Linked DNA regions of Homo sapiens: regions 1 and 2 are each linked to region 3. The links are contacts of gene promoters, found by promoter capture Hi-C in blood cells and fetal thymus (Javierre and others, 2016). All regions are on one chromosome and are shown on one strand. Each heading gives the region's core, a stretch centred on a gene start or on the middle of the fragment in contact. The rest is flanking DNA. Distances are from core to core; before and after follow the strand shown. Region 1 overlaps ATXN1 (ataxin 1). Region 2 overlaps LOC124901268 (a long non-coding RNA gene). Region 3 holds the start of MYLIP (myosin regulatory light chain interacting protein).

What was found. The method cuts DNA at HindIII sites, captures the fragments that hold promoters and counts their contacts. A CHiCAGO score of 5 or more calls a contact.
Region 1: a fragment that was not itself captured here is called in contact with the fragment with the promoter of MYLIP in region 3 in 1 of 17 cell types (fetal thymus); the score reaches 6.9 in fetal thymus.
Region 2: a contact is called between a fragment that was not itself captured here and the fragment with the promoter of MYLIP in region 3, in 2 of 17 cell types (total CD8 T cells and non-activated CD4 T cells). The highest score is 5.3, in total CD8 T cells.

The regions. Positions count from the first base shown.
Region 1 is chr6:16,753,214-16,757,597 of GRCh38, reverse strand. It overlaps ATXN1 (ataxin 1), which reads left to right. Exons shown (of 8, transcript NM_001128164.2): 2 at 4,251-4,365. Among named protein-coding and RNA genes, the nearest start is that of ATXN1-AS1, 5.7 kb to the left of the region's middle. The HindIII fragment of the contact is 8,416 bases long and covers 1-4,384 here.
Region 2 is chr6:16,769,143-16,773,317 of GRCh38, reverse strand. It overlaps LOC124901268 (a long non-coding RNA gene), which reads right to left. Exons shown (of 2, transcript XR_007059480.1): 1 at 1-4,175. Among named protein-coding and RNA genes, the nearest start is that of ATXN1, 9.8 kb to the right of the region's middle. RefSeq lists an enhancer at 3,906-4,175. The HindIII fragment of the contact is 3,709 bases long and covers 164-3,872 here.
Region 3 is chr6:16,126,178-16,130,493 of GRCh38, reverse strand. MYLIP (myosin regulatory light chain interacting protein) reads right to left here and starts at 1,408. Exons shown (of 7, transcript NM_013262.4): 1 at 1,085-1,408. The coding sequence starts at 1,171. RefSeq lists a silencer at 727-1,726. The HindIII fragment of the contact is 2,730 bases long and covers 379-3,108 here.

The DNA of each region.
Region 1 (4,384 bases), core at 1,583-4,082, 630 kb before region 3:
TTCCCAGGGGGTTTATGAGTTTTTACCGTTTTGTGAGTTTATGTGGTTGGTAAATTCATTGTGGCCTGGTCAGATGAAGCACTGCTGTAGTTAAAATGAGCTATTATTTCTTCTAGCTACTCAACTTTTATAAGGTGGTAAATAGATGGGAAGCAAGGATGTCAATATTACACAATGCCTTGGAGGTCCTGGATTCTATTTTGCAACATATAGAAAAATGCTTTACTTGCAGTAAAATGTGAACATATATTTTTCAGTGCACAAATAAATTCATGTGAAAATAAGTATAAAAAAATGTACCTGGTGGGAACCGCCAAAGGCAATATTTTTCCTTGCGGATTTCGTTTTAAGAGGGTTTGGTAAACAGAAGTGACACTTTGTCAAAAATGTTACGACTAGACTTCAGGACTTCTGAATTGTCTTTTACACTTAGAGGAAGATTAAACAGAAACTCTTTAGCCACAAGATTACATGTCAAATGCCTGTAAGTTTCAACATACCTAAGTCAGTTGCCTAGGAGTCCTGGGAAAGGCCAGTGCTGAGATTATTGAAATATTAGTAAACATTACTATGACTCCTGTTTTTGTTGTCATTATGGAGTCCAAGGACGCACATTTCTTTGAATAATGTTGTGCCTTTATTGTTTTTCATTCTGAAATGTCAAGTGGATTTTACTTTTTTGCACATACCTTGAGTGACAGTTTCTGATGACTAACACTAACACTCATTTTGTTTCCTATTAAAAGTTAAGCAATAAACATATTTTACTAAAATTCTGAAACTCACGTAAGTAGGTAAATGTGGGAGTGAATGTTAATTCTTTAAACTGTAGTTATCTGAAAATAACACATAGATTAGGATCTGAACAGCTTAAATACTTGCATCGGTAAAGTGACAATAGTGAAGTAAGACAGGCTATTATTTTTAGGGGAGAGATAGATTATTTGACTTTCCTTGCTCTGTATTTTCAGAGTAATTCAATAGTTCGAATGATTAGTTTCTGTGAGAGATTTAGATCTGTGCAGCTTAATTGCTTCAAATAACAGATTTAGTTCTGGTCATACTTCCAAGGTTATCAGAAGCAGGCCCTCCTTATTTTGATAAAAGCATTGAAAGCAATACATTGTAGAAATGGTAATAGAAATAATAATTTCTGTTTTAGGACCTTACATATAGAACTTCCTTTTCTAAGATAAGAATTTTAAGTCATCAATTATGTTCACATTTTATTTTCATGTAATTTAGTTTAATAAAATAAATGTACTCATTCAAAATTTTTTTAAGAAGTGATATACAGTGTCAGTTTTACAGAATTTTTTAAATGTTGGCTGAAAGAACGGTAATTACATTGAGATTTTTAAAAATATATAAATGCTTAAAATTACAGAAGTAATAAAAAGAATGGTTTTAGACAAATCTTATGGAAAGTTTTTTATTTTATTCTTTTATAATTATATTTATGGATATTTGTCTTTATTAGTGTAGTAATATATTTTATAACGCTCATAATTTGAACTTTCAGGCTAATGTACTATAAATATTTGTATTACGCATTACTACCATCCCAAATGTACCAAAACACGTTTAGAGAGAACAATTATGGACAAAAAAGCAACAAGCATTATATTTTGTTTGACATATTTCATGTTAGCAGAAATGTTTCATTGATTTTTCTGTAACTTTTAATGCATCCCATTTGTGGAGTAATGAAAATGTAATGATAATTGCCACAATGTAAGCAAAAATTGTATCCTACCTGAAAATTACTTTCCAGAAAATTCATGGTAGTGTACTCAGAATTTGAGACTCAAGAGGGCAGAGGTTTCCCCGATTGTGATGTTTTGATTTGGGCTAAGAGGAACTCTTTTTTTTTTTTTTTACACTTAGGTGCCCTTTAACATGACAAGTTTTGAATGAGTTAGGTAGCAGAAGTTTTTCGTGACAGTTATTGTAGCTACTAACCTATAGCATCTATCCTTCTAACGTTCAAAGAAAATATATTTTTCTGTCACTGTGTATGGCAAACTTTATTTTCTTGTGCCCTTAATTTTGTTCCCCTTTCTCACATTATCTCCTGGTACTTACTGACCATTACCTCAGTTTTGTTTAGGCCGTCTTTCTTGTTAATCTTCCAATATTAATAGTATTGTATTATGTTGCTCTGCTGGGTTTTAAAAATATTGAGTATTCCATTTTTGGTGTATATTATTGTATAAAATGTCCTATAAATTATTTTCTGGTATATTATTTTGTAAGTTTTTGCAGTGAATACGTGCTGCCTTGCTTGTATTCTTGCCTTCTTCCCTCTGATGGAATACAAGTTATGTAAACTCTCTGTATTATCCTAACTAGTGCAGCAACACAAATACTTTTGAAATAAGAAAGCATACTCATGCAAGAGTAAAGTAATCTTCTATGGCATTTACATCATGTTTGACCCTCCTCTGCACTTCAGCAAACTAGGAGGAGGTTGTAACTTGGACTCTATAAAACCTTATCTGCCAGGTGATATGTAAACAGGATTGTGTGCACACACATTGTCATATAGGCAAACACTCTCCCAACTGGTGAGCTCATAAAAAGCACTGTCTGTAAATTTATGGTACCTGCACCTCATTTGAGAATCAAGTATTTTGATGCTTAATTTGAGATGACATCATGATCCTCCCTCCCTGCTTCCTCATCCTTAAAGAAGTACTAAGATTAAATAGAATTTTGTCAACTTCTACTTAACTTGGCCATTATTTATATTTGTAACTCAACAGGCTTCTTGGTGGAGGGACTGTGCCTTCTAAAGATCTGAAAGACCTTATAGTGTATAACAGCTTACCTTCCTTCTCTGTACGCACAGATCACATGTGGGGAAACCAAGGACTACAAGAATTCCTTCTTTTGCATATCAGTCCTCGGCAGGCAATCAATGCTTAAATAAATGCTTGGTGAATGGATTAGTTAGAAGTAAGAACATTTTGGCTACTGTTCATTACTTTGAAAAGTGCTGGAAAGAAGTGGAAGTTATTTTCCTTTCCAGCTGGGCTGTGCTCTTAAAAATAGTGAGTGTGTATGGATGAAAATAATCATGAGTACCGAGATGTGTTGCCATGTACCCAAGGATAATTGGCTCACTTACCTGTTTACGGATTATTCACATTGGAGATCATATTCATAGCTCCAGAATAGTTTCTTTCTGACATCCAATATAAACCTGGGCCTCCTTCTTCCTACTGTTACCTGGCGTGAGCTTAGGAAACCCAAACTAAGTTTAAAATCAGCCTAAGCAAATGTGCAGATCAGCTCCAGTAATCAAAGACTGAAAATCAGTCCAGCATTCACTAGTTTGGGGATGATTTTATAGTAACCCTGCTACTGATTTTAAAAAAATTTTTTTTTCTGTTTAATGTGGATAATTGGTAATTACCGGTATTTAAGAATATAATTTTAATGGATAGGGCTAAAAAAATACGTTAGCAGATCGAGTCCTCAACTTCTTCCGTTTCTATGCATAGGTTTTACCTCACAAAAACTACTACAAGCACCAAGCTCCCTGATGGAAAGGTATATGGAAGATTCATTCATTCTTTCTTTCATTCATCCATTCACACATTCACTCATTCATCATACAATGGAAAATTTTTACTTAACCATGTGCAAGGAATTGTGGCAAAATGAAAATGAGATGTACATTCAGTATTTAAATAAAGTTTAGTGGAAAGTTTAGTGAATATAAATGCACACTTTACACTTTTTTTCTGCATTTTTTCCTTTCTTCTATTCCATTGGACTGGTATGCTAATAGCTGTGCACTTTCATCATTGTGTTTCAAGTTGCATGTTGATAGATAATATATGCCACATTAAAATTAGGCTTTGGCTCAATTACTATTCAATCCATGCCCATTTTCACCTGATACTCCTTGTAGTTACCAGCATGTGTTTATCAGATGATTGGCTAGAATCATTGGAGAAAAGAATGACAGCGGCTGGCTCAAATGGGGAGACCATCCTCTTAATTTGATGGAAGGGATGACCTTTTTGTATGTTGGCCTCCCTCTGAGCCTTGTTGAGTAAAACCAGACCTGCCTTTTGAGCTGGCTGGGATCTGTGTAATTCTCATACAACAGAATGCCGAATGTGATGTTCTTAAAATTTGTATTTCGGTGCATAGACACTTAAGGTGGACTTATTTTTTAAAGCAGTCTATTCTGTTTTTCATTTTGGATTTCCTCTCCTGCACTCCCTCGACCATTGCAGGAGCATCGTGCATCAAGTCACCAGGGTGGTCCATTCAAGCTGCAGATTTGTTTGTCATCCTTGTACAGCAATCTCCTCCTCCACTGCCACTACAGGGAAGTGCATCACATGTCAGGTGAGAGTTTTGCGATGCT
Region 2 (4,175 bases), core at 769-3,268, 640 kb before region 3:
CAGACTGTTGAACTCTGGTCTATTTCAGCTTCTAGAATCATTTCCCTCAAATACAAAGTGGAGTGAGGCTGTGAAGAGGTTACAGTGTTTTGCACATCTTGTGTGGCCAGGCTACTTTCAGACACTATGCTTCGATTCTGGTCACAGAGGACTCTGGGAAGCTTGCGGGTAGAACAGGAGAAGTTCAGCCCAGAGTAACTGAAGGAAATTAAGTCATTAAATTAGCCTTGAGAATTCATGTTGGCCCTTTACGATCTCCTTCGTCCTTACTGTAATGGGATACTTTAGACAGGACTTTAATAGGAAAGGGTTCTAGGGATTCAAGCATGAACCTCAAGTGAGAATCATTTCCAGCCCATGTAGCAGCATGAGTAAAAATTATAAGCTGGAATAGAGTTCTGTTAGTTGGGAAACCACTTAGGTTGATCTGAAGCCAATTCGCTTATGGAGAAATACTCAGTTCTCAATGAGCATCACTAGCTTTAATTTCTGGGATACAGGTGTTATTCACAATTCATGTATAATCCAAAAACTAGAGATTGGATTAAAAATGGTCCCTTAGCCAAAACATTGCAATGCAGTGTTATGACTGTAACTGTCCTATTTCATTCAGGTAATGACTTGTTAACAATTCTCAAGCTGCATAGGTGGATAACTTCACTTTGAAACCAGTGCTGGGTGACCCTGAACTTTGGGCAGGTCCTTTAAACTCCAAGCCTCAGTTTAATCACCTAATAAGTGAGAATCATGATCTCTATCTCACAGTATCATCATGGGGATGAAATGAAATGACATCTGCAAAGCCTGAGTGTGAGACTCAGTTCATTCCAACTCAGCTTTAATAGTCATGTCAGACACTAAGGCAAAGGTCAAGTAAAGAGAACATATATTATACCATAGTGTGGACCAGATGGATTAGTTTTGGATTAGCTCCTAATGAGATAATCATTGTGTTGGGGGCTGACAGAACTTTGCACATAGTAGGTTCTGGAAAACATTACTGATTAATTCATTTAATAGTCAATGCCTATTTAGTGGGTGTCTATCATGTGCCAAGAACTATTCTAGATGAATGAGCCAGACAAAAAAAAAAAAAAATCTCTGCCCTCCTGACAATAAACAAACAAACAAAGTAGATGACATAGAATGTTATAAAGCAACACATTTATGGGATAAATGAGCAGGGCAAGGTGGATCGGGAAAGTGAGGGAGTAGAATTTTTAGTAGGGTGTTCACAGCAGGCCTCACTAGGAGGTTGATTCTTAGAAAAAATAACCTGAAGAAGATGAAGGAGTGGGCCATGCGAACACAAGAGGGAAAAGCATTCCAAGCCGAGGGAACAGCTAATACAAAGGCCCTGAGGCAAGAGAGCAGCTGGCTTATTTGAGGACCAGCAAAGAGGACAGTGAGGCTGGCAGTGTGGGAGCAAGGACAGGGATAGATGAGATCAGAAAAGTTGAGGACCTGATCGAGGCCAGCCTTGTAGGCCATGAAGGGCTTTTACTTGACCTTGGGGGAGCCCTTGGTCTCTGAGCAGAGCTGTGGCATCAACCTAATGCAGGCAGTAGACTGGTGTGGGCCGGTAACTGGAGAAGTAAGGGCCAATTTAGGAGGCTGTCGCAGTAACCCTGACGAAGGACGGTGGTGGTTTAACTCCAGTGGTAGCAGTCCCAGGGCTGAAAAATGGTCAGATTCTGGATATGTTTTGAAGGTAGATTTAACTGGATTTTTGGCAAATTGGATGTGGGGTCTGACGAGAGAGTCAAGACACTGCCAGCGGTTCTGGGCTTGAACAGGTGGAAAGATGGAGTTGCCATTTTCTGAGATTTGCATGTAAGAACTGCTTTATCCATCTCAAGAGGACTTCCTTTGTATTCTGGCTTCAGTGTGAGGCCTCCCCTTCCACTCGCTCAGGGAAACTTCCTGAAACAAATGAGCTTCTCGGTTTTTTTTGGTTTTTTGAAAAAGGAGAATCAGAAAGACCAAGGTCTTCATAAGCACTTTGATAACACTCAAATAGACAGTAAAAGAAAGCCAAACAATTAGCATTGTATTTCCTCAATATCAAATTAATTTAGTTTTTGCGGTCTCTTCTTCACCCCAACCCCACCCACATGCTGGAAGACTACTTCTGAAGAGGGAAGCTGCTGGTGCATCGGGCGCCCAGCAGAGGGAGCTGAGGAGGGCCGAGGAGGACGCCGACACCAGCTGACGCCCCGTGCAGGAGTGTAATGTACTTGTGCTCTCTGAGGCCTGGAGCCAGAAGCCAGATGTTTTTCTGGGATGACGAGGAGGCGGTTCTAGAACTCTGTAAGTTTTCTATTCCATTAGACCTTTTCTTTGTTTATTGGTATTGTCATAGGTGCAAGACCAAAAGTACATCCAGAACAGATTACCTAGGAGTATCTGCAGCAGGAAGAGGTAGGGCCATATACGTAAATAAAGAGAAGAAAGGAGAATCCAACAGACCTGGAATCATGGATCTCATAAGGAGGGTGCATTCGTCTCCTAGGATGGCTATAACAAAGTACCACAAACTGGGTGGCTTAAAACAACAGGTATCTATTCCCTCCCAGTTCTGGAAGTTAGAAGTCTGAAATCAAGGTGTCAACAGGGCCATCCTTTCTCTAAATGCTCTAGGAGAGGAGGCTTCCTTGCCTCTTCTAGCTTCTGGTGGTTGCTAGCAATCCCTGGCATTCCCTGGCTTGTGGCAGCATATCTCCAGTCTCTGCCTTGTCTTCACATGGTCATCTACCCTGTGTCTCCTCTGTTTCTGTGTCTTCTCTTCTTATGAGGACAACAGTTGCATTGGATTTAGGGTCCACCCTAAAACAGTAAAACCTCATCCTAACTAATTACATCTGCAAAAATGCTACTCCCAAATAAGGCTACACTCATAGTTACTGGGGTTAGGACTTCGATGTATCTTTTGGGGTCACAATTCAACTCATAACAGAGGGCAGTGGAAAGTTACATGAAAAACTGATCAGTGGAGGGGAGTCACATAATTGGAGCATAAACAAAGGAAGCGCAGTTGCACGCTGAAACTGTAAGGGAGGTCAAATGGGTTTGGGAGTAGCAGGAAGTATTCAAGTAAGAGAGCTCCCACTTAGGATACTCTCTCCATCTGTGCTTATGGCCCTGTTTTTTTCGGTTAGAGGTTTAAAAAAATATTGTATAAATAAAAAGAATAAGAAAATAGCACTTCTCTGACTCACACATTGGGCAGAGCCGCAGACTCCTGTGATAATCAAGAAAGACTTCACAGAAGTGTTGATGCTTGAGCCGGATCTCAAAAGCATGAGGATAAAATCTCCATGCAAAAAAAAAAAAAAAAAAAGGAGGGAGGAGAAGAAAGGGCTTTCCATATAGAAGGTATATGCACACGCATAATGTTATTTAAATGATATCTCCTTCACCTCTTTAGGTGGGGAGTAAAGTCTTTAAAAGGCAAGGCTCTTGTTGTCTATTTAACCTGTATTACTCAGACACAGTATTTAAACAATGAAGGGGCAAAAATGTTTCTGGTTTTAATAAATGCACAAATAAGCACATGATAACCTGGAAGAACACTAGGGGCATATATCAGGAGGAGTTAATTATTGGACACATTTGCCAAAGCACAAATATGGAAACCCCACCCTCAGCCAGATCTGGAGAAATCAAAGAGTTGAATGTGGTATAAATTCCTTTGCCCTGATTGCATAAGGAGATCTGCCAACATTTTTCCCTTTGATATATTCCTTTCTGTACAAAGGGTCGAACTGGGTTCTTAAAAACCCAATCATGAACTAAGATATGCAATTCTGAATCACCATTGCGATCTAGGAAAATTAACTCCTCGCTGATCTTCCCAGATAAGCACCCAAGCTTGTTGCCTCCAAGATCTGCATCAGGGTCTGGCTAGTTTCTGTCTTAGAGCAACTCCCCTTTTTTGGCATAAGAATGTACAGGATGCCAGCGAAGTTCACACTGGGTCGTCTAAGTCTCTTTAAAGGCCTGATGATTCATTGCTGGGGGTTGGGGTGAGAAGGTAGTGAGGGGAAAGGAAGTGCTAAGCCAAGGGGCGGAGCAATATAATTATGAAATTGACAGCAGGAAAAGCTAGCCCTGGGAGTGAAGGGTTCACGTGTTCTTACTCCTGGTACTCAAGCTACAACTTTTAAACTGGAATA
Region 3 (4,316 bases), core at 159-2,658:
TCCCTGAGGCTAAGATTGCTGGTGCTTTTTACAAAGTTCAATGGTGTTACAATTCCTGATCTAAACTGGAAAAACAAAGTTCCACGGCTCCAATGATACCAAACCACGAGCTCTAGTATGGAGGCTCATAATTCCTTTTAACGTCTAGGGCATGACCAATTGCAATAGAGAAAAAAGGAGTCCTCAAAAGTAGCCTTCCAAAAGATGAGGAGGGGAAACTACAGGGTATTTTCCTTCGTATTCCAATCACCGGAATTCCCTCCACCAGCATACTCTGCACAGCTGATTTTTGGCGACTTATTATCTGGGCAATTTTAACCATTTGGACTCCAAAAATCAAACACATTGAGGGAACACGCCACAAGTGTCAGCTAAGCTTCACAAGCGGTTTTCCAAACATCTCAGAGCTAGAGGGGTTGAGGGCACAGCGTTTTCCTGGGATCACATGTGCTGTCTGCCATACCACCTCTGCACTATTTGGCACCGATCTCCCTCACTGTTAAGGAAACACATGCTTAAAAACAACCGAGCAGTAGATGACCCAAACCTATTCCTCCCGTCCCCCGCAAACCCGGAGATGCAGGTGAACGGTGCATTTGAGAGCAGCAGCCTGAGAAGCAGCGTGAGACAAGGGCCCGGCTTGTCTGCCAAGAACCCCTGGGGCCCGAGACTGCTTCGAGCCACTCCATCCCATCCTGGCACGCGGGTGGCACTGCCAGGCGCCGCGGGGACCCGACAGGCGGCATCACGCACATACCTGCGGCAGGTGTGCGGAGCCGCCTTCTTCCGGGAAAGTGCTGGGTTGGGGGGATGATGGGGCGCTGGGGGGTGGATCCCGGCTGCGGGCTGCGCCCGGCCCTCAGCGCTGGGGACCCCCGCTGCGCGCTTTCTCCGCGCACCCCACGCGCGCCAGGAGGAGACCGCGCGCCCCACGCCCGTGGAGAGGAGGGGACGCGCTCCCCCCGGCTGCCGCCGCAGTGCCTCCCGGCCCCTAGTAGGGGGCGCGCCAGAGTGCCAGGCGTCGCTGCGAGGCCCCTCGGCCTCGCGGGACCCGCCGGGGCCCCTTCTTGCCCCTCGCCCTCACCTGGTTGAGGCAGTCCTCGCCGTTGGCTTTCGCCTCCACCTCCACCTCCATCAGCACCGCGTCCGGCCTCGTCACATAACACAGCATGGCTGGGGCTGCCGCTGCCGCCACAGCCGCCTTCTCTTTGGTGTGCGCGGGGCTGCCGCCTTGTCACTGGTGGGACCCAGCCCCGGACTCGGAGAGGGCTGGCCCTCGAAGGCTGCAGCTCTGCGGACCCTTGTCCGGGGCCCCGCGGCCGCCACTCGCGTCCCCGCCACCCCCTCACCCGCTGCCCGCCAGCTGCCCCTGTCCTCCGCGGTGGCGCCGCACTCCAGCAGCCCAACTGCCTGCGCTGCGACAGGGACTCTGCTGATATAGCGGCCCCGCCCCCTTCAGCTCGGGTCCCCGCCAATCACGGCCTCCCTGCCCCTCCTCCCCCGCCCGATCAGCCAATAGCGGCGCCCCTCGACCGCGGCCCCCGCCTCCCAGAGCCGGCTGAGTTTCCCTGGCCGCCCCGGGAGGTGGCAGCTTGCGGGCGCCGAGTGCTGCGGGAAGGGAGGGAGACCCCGGAACACACCAGCCGCCTCTGTCCGCTGGGCGACGCTGCTCAGAGTGAGCGATCGCCCGGGGCTCCAGGCGGGGACGCCTTTCTGCCGTCTCGAATTTACGGTGATTAAACACCTCCAAGCTGCCACTGTTCTTCAAATATCTTGGATCACTCTGAGCACGCATTTCGGTTGTGAAAGCAAAAAGGAAAAGGAGCAACCCAAAGCCTAAAGAAAACTGTTCTCGTCCGGGCATGGTGGCTCACGCCTGTAATCCCAGCACTTTGGGAGGCCGAGATGGGTGGATCACCTGAGGTCAGATTCGAGACCAGCCTGGCAAACATGGTGAAACCCCCGTCTCTACTAAAAATACAAAAAAAAAAACAAAATAGCCAGGCGTGGTGGCGGGCACCTGTAATCCCAGCTACCTGGGAGGCTGAGGCAGGAGAATCGCTTGAACCCAGGAGGCGGAGGTTGCAGTGAGCTGAGATTGTGTCACTGCACTGTAGCTTGGGCAAGAAGAGCAAAAAACCCTGTCTCAAAAAAAAAAAAAAAAAAAAAAAAAAAAAGAAAAGAAAAAGAAAAAAGAAAAAAAAAAGAGAAAAAGAAAACTCTTTTCCACCAGGATTAGCCACAGTGGGTTGCTTGGAGGCAGAATTGTTGTTCCTTATTAAGACCTCATCATTGAGAAAAACAAAATCTGAGTATGAAAGTTTTTGCAGCTGACCAGTGAGCCAGGTGTCTTGGTCTAGTGCTGGTGTGTTACACTCCGGAAGGGCTTCTCCTTACTCGTTCTGCTGAATCAAAACGCCTTACAGGGTACCAGGCCCTCTCTCAGGTTGCTCATTCTACCTCCTGTCTTATCTCACTCATTCATTAAACATTTGTGCAGCACCTGATACCCTGCCTGTCCCTTCTCACAGGCAACCAGATGTTGTCCTCGTCTTAAGGTAAGGTGCTCATCTCCTGACCTAACAGGTGGCATTACTGCAATATTAGCTATTAAAGGTCTACAACCCTTCACTCATTTACCGCTTGTTCCTCTTTGCCAATATATTACATAGCCTACCTTTTTGATTTCTTTATAGGAGCCAGATGATGTGGGTTTCAGCCGTGGAAACTTAGCAAACTTACTTCAGGCCAGCTCGATGGCTCACACCTGTAATCCCAGCACTTTTGGAGGCCGAGGCAGGAGGATCGCCTGAGCCCAGCAGTTTGAGACCAGCCCGGTTTCGCAACACAGCGAAACCCCATCTCTACACAAAATACAAAAAATTAGCCAGGCGTGGTGGCGCCTGCCTGTAGTCTCAGCTACATGGGAGGCTGAGGTGGGAGGATCACTTGAGCCTGGGAGTTCGAGGCTGCAGTGTGCTGTGATCCCCCTACTGCACTCCAGCCTAGGCGACAGAGCAAAAGACCCTGTCTCTAAACAACAACAACAACAAAAAGAAAACAACGAAAGAAAAAAAAAGAGAAAACTTACTTCATCTGTCTGAAGCTTGGTGTTGTCAACAGTAAAATGGAGATGGCAATATCTGCTCTGTCTCCACCCAGCATTGTTGGGAAGCGCAGCAAAGATAATAACGTTCACAAAAGCATTTGAATGTCCCCGTGTATGTAAGGGGAGCTATAAGTTCAGTGCCTTCACTGCTTAATGATGACTTTTCCTGTCCCTACCCCCCTTCACGAGTCCCAAGGATCTGTTAGTGGCCTTTATTTCCGAACAACCAGGTACGATATCAGAGCCCAAGGCTAAAAAAAAAGGAGGGATCCTCCCACACACAGTTCTTTGCTAAAGCTGACCGAGTAAAACTGTAAACTGTCCAAGTCCTAACCCCCACTGTTGCAGAGGAACAGGTGCACTCTCACATCTTTCTGTCTTATAAATACACCTCATGCTATTGTGGGCTGAAACAGTCCCTTCTTGTATTAACTGCAGTGCCTATTCCCTGAATTCCAGTTTACTAATAATCTGGGGAATTTATCTGGAAGATAGCGTTTGGTTCATTCCTTGTCTACTTTATGCTTAATTGCTAGAAGTTTCAGAAGAGGAAGAAGAGGCGAGGGGCAATAGGGAGACCAGTTATATTGGTTAGTATTTTTGTTTATGAACAATAGAAACTAAAGCTGGCTAACTGGAAACTCATAGAATCAATGGGACCAGGTGTGGAAATGAGTAGAACGGGAAAATATTGGTTGGCCAAGAAAAAAAAAATAAACAAAAATAAAACAAGCAAACACCCAAACCAAATACCCACTTTGTGGACTACTTTAAAAATAACTTATATTTTTGGTTTTAGCAGGGATTTTTCTTTTGCAAGTATGATTTCATTGTTTTTTTAAAAAATCTAAGCTTGTAAAATAGTTTGTAGAAGCATAGGTAAAATCTGACATGTTTATTTTATTTAAAACTTTTTGGCCAGGCGTGGTGGCTCATGCCTGTCATCCCAGAGCCCTGGGAGGCCGAGGCAGGCAGATCCCTTGAGCCCAGGAGTTTGAGATCAGCCTGAGCAAAATGGCAAAACCCCATCTCTACTAAAAATATAAAAAATTAGCCAGGCATGATGGCATGTGTCTGTAGTCCCAGATACTCAGCGTGCTGAGGTGGGAGGATGGCTTGAGTCCAGAAAGTCCAGGCTTCAGTCAATCATGATCTCACCACTGCACTCCAGCTTGGCCGAAGGGAGTGAGACCCTTTCTCAAACAAA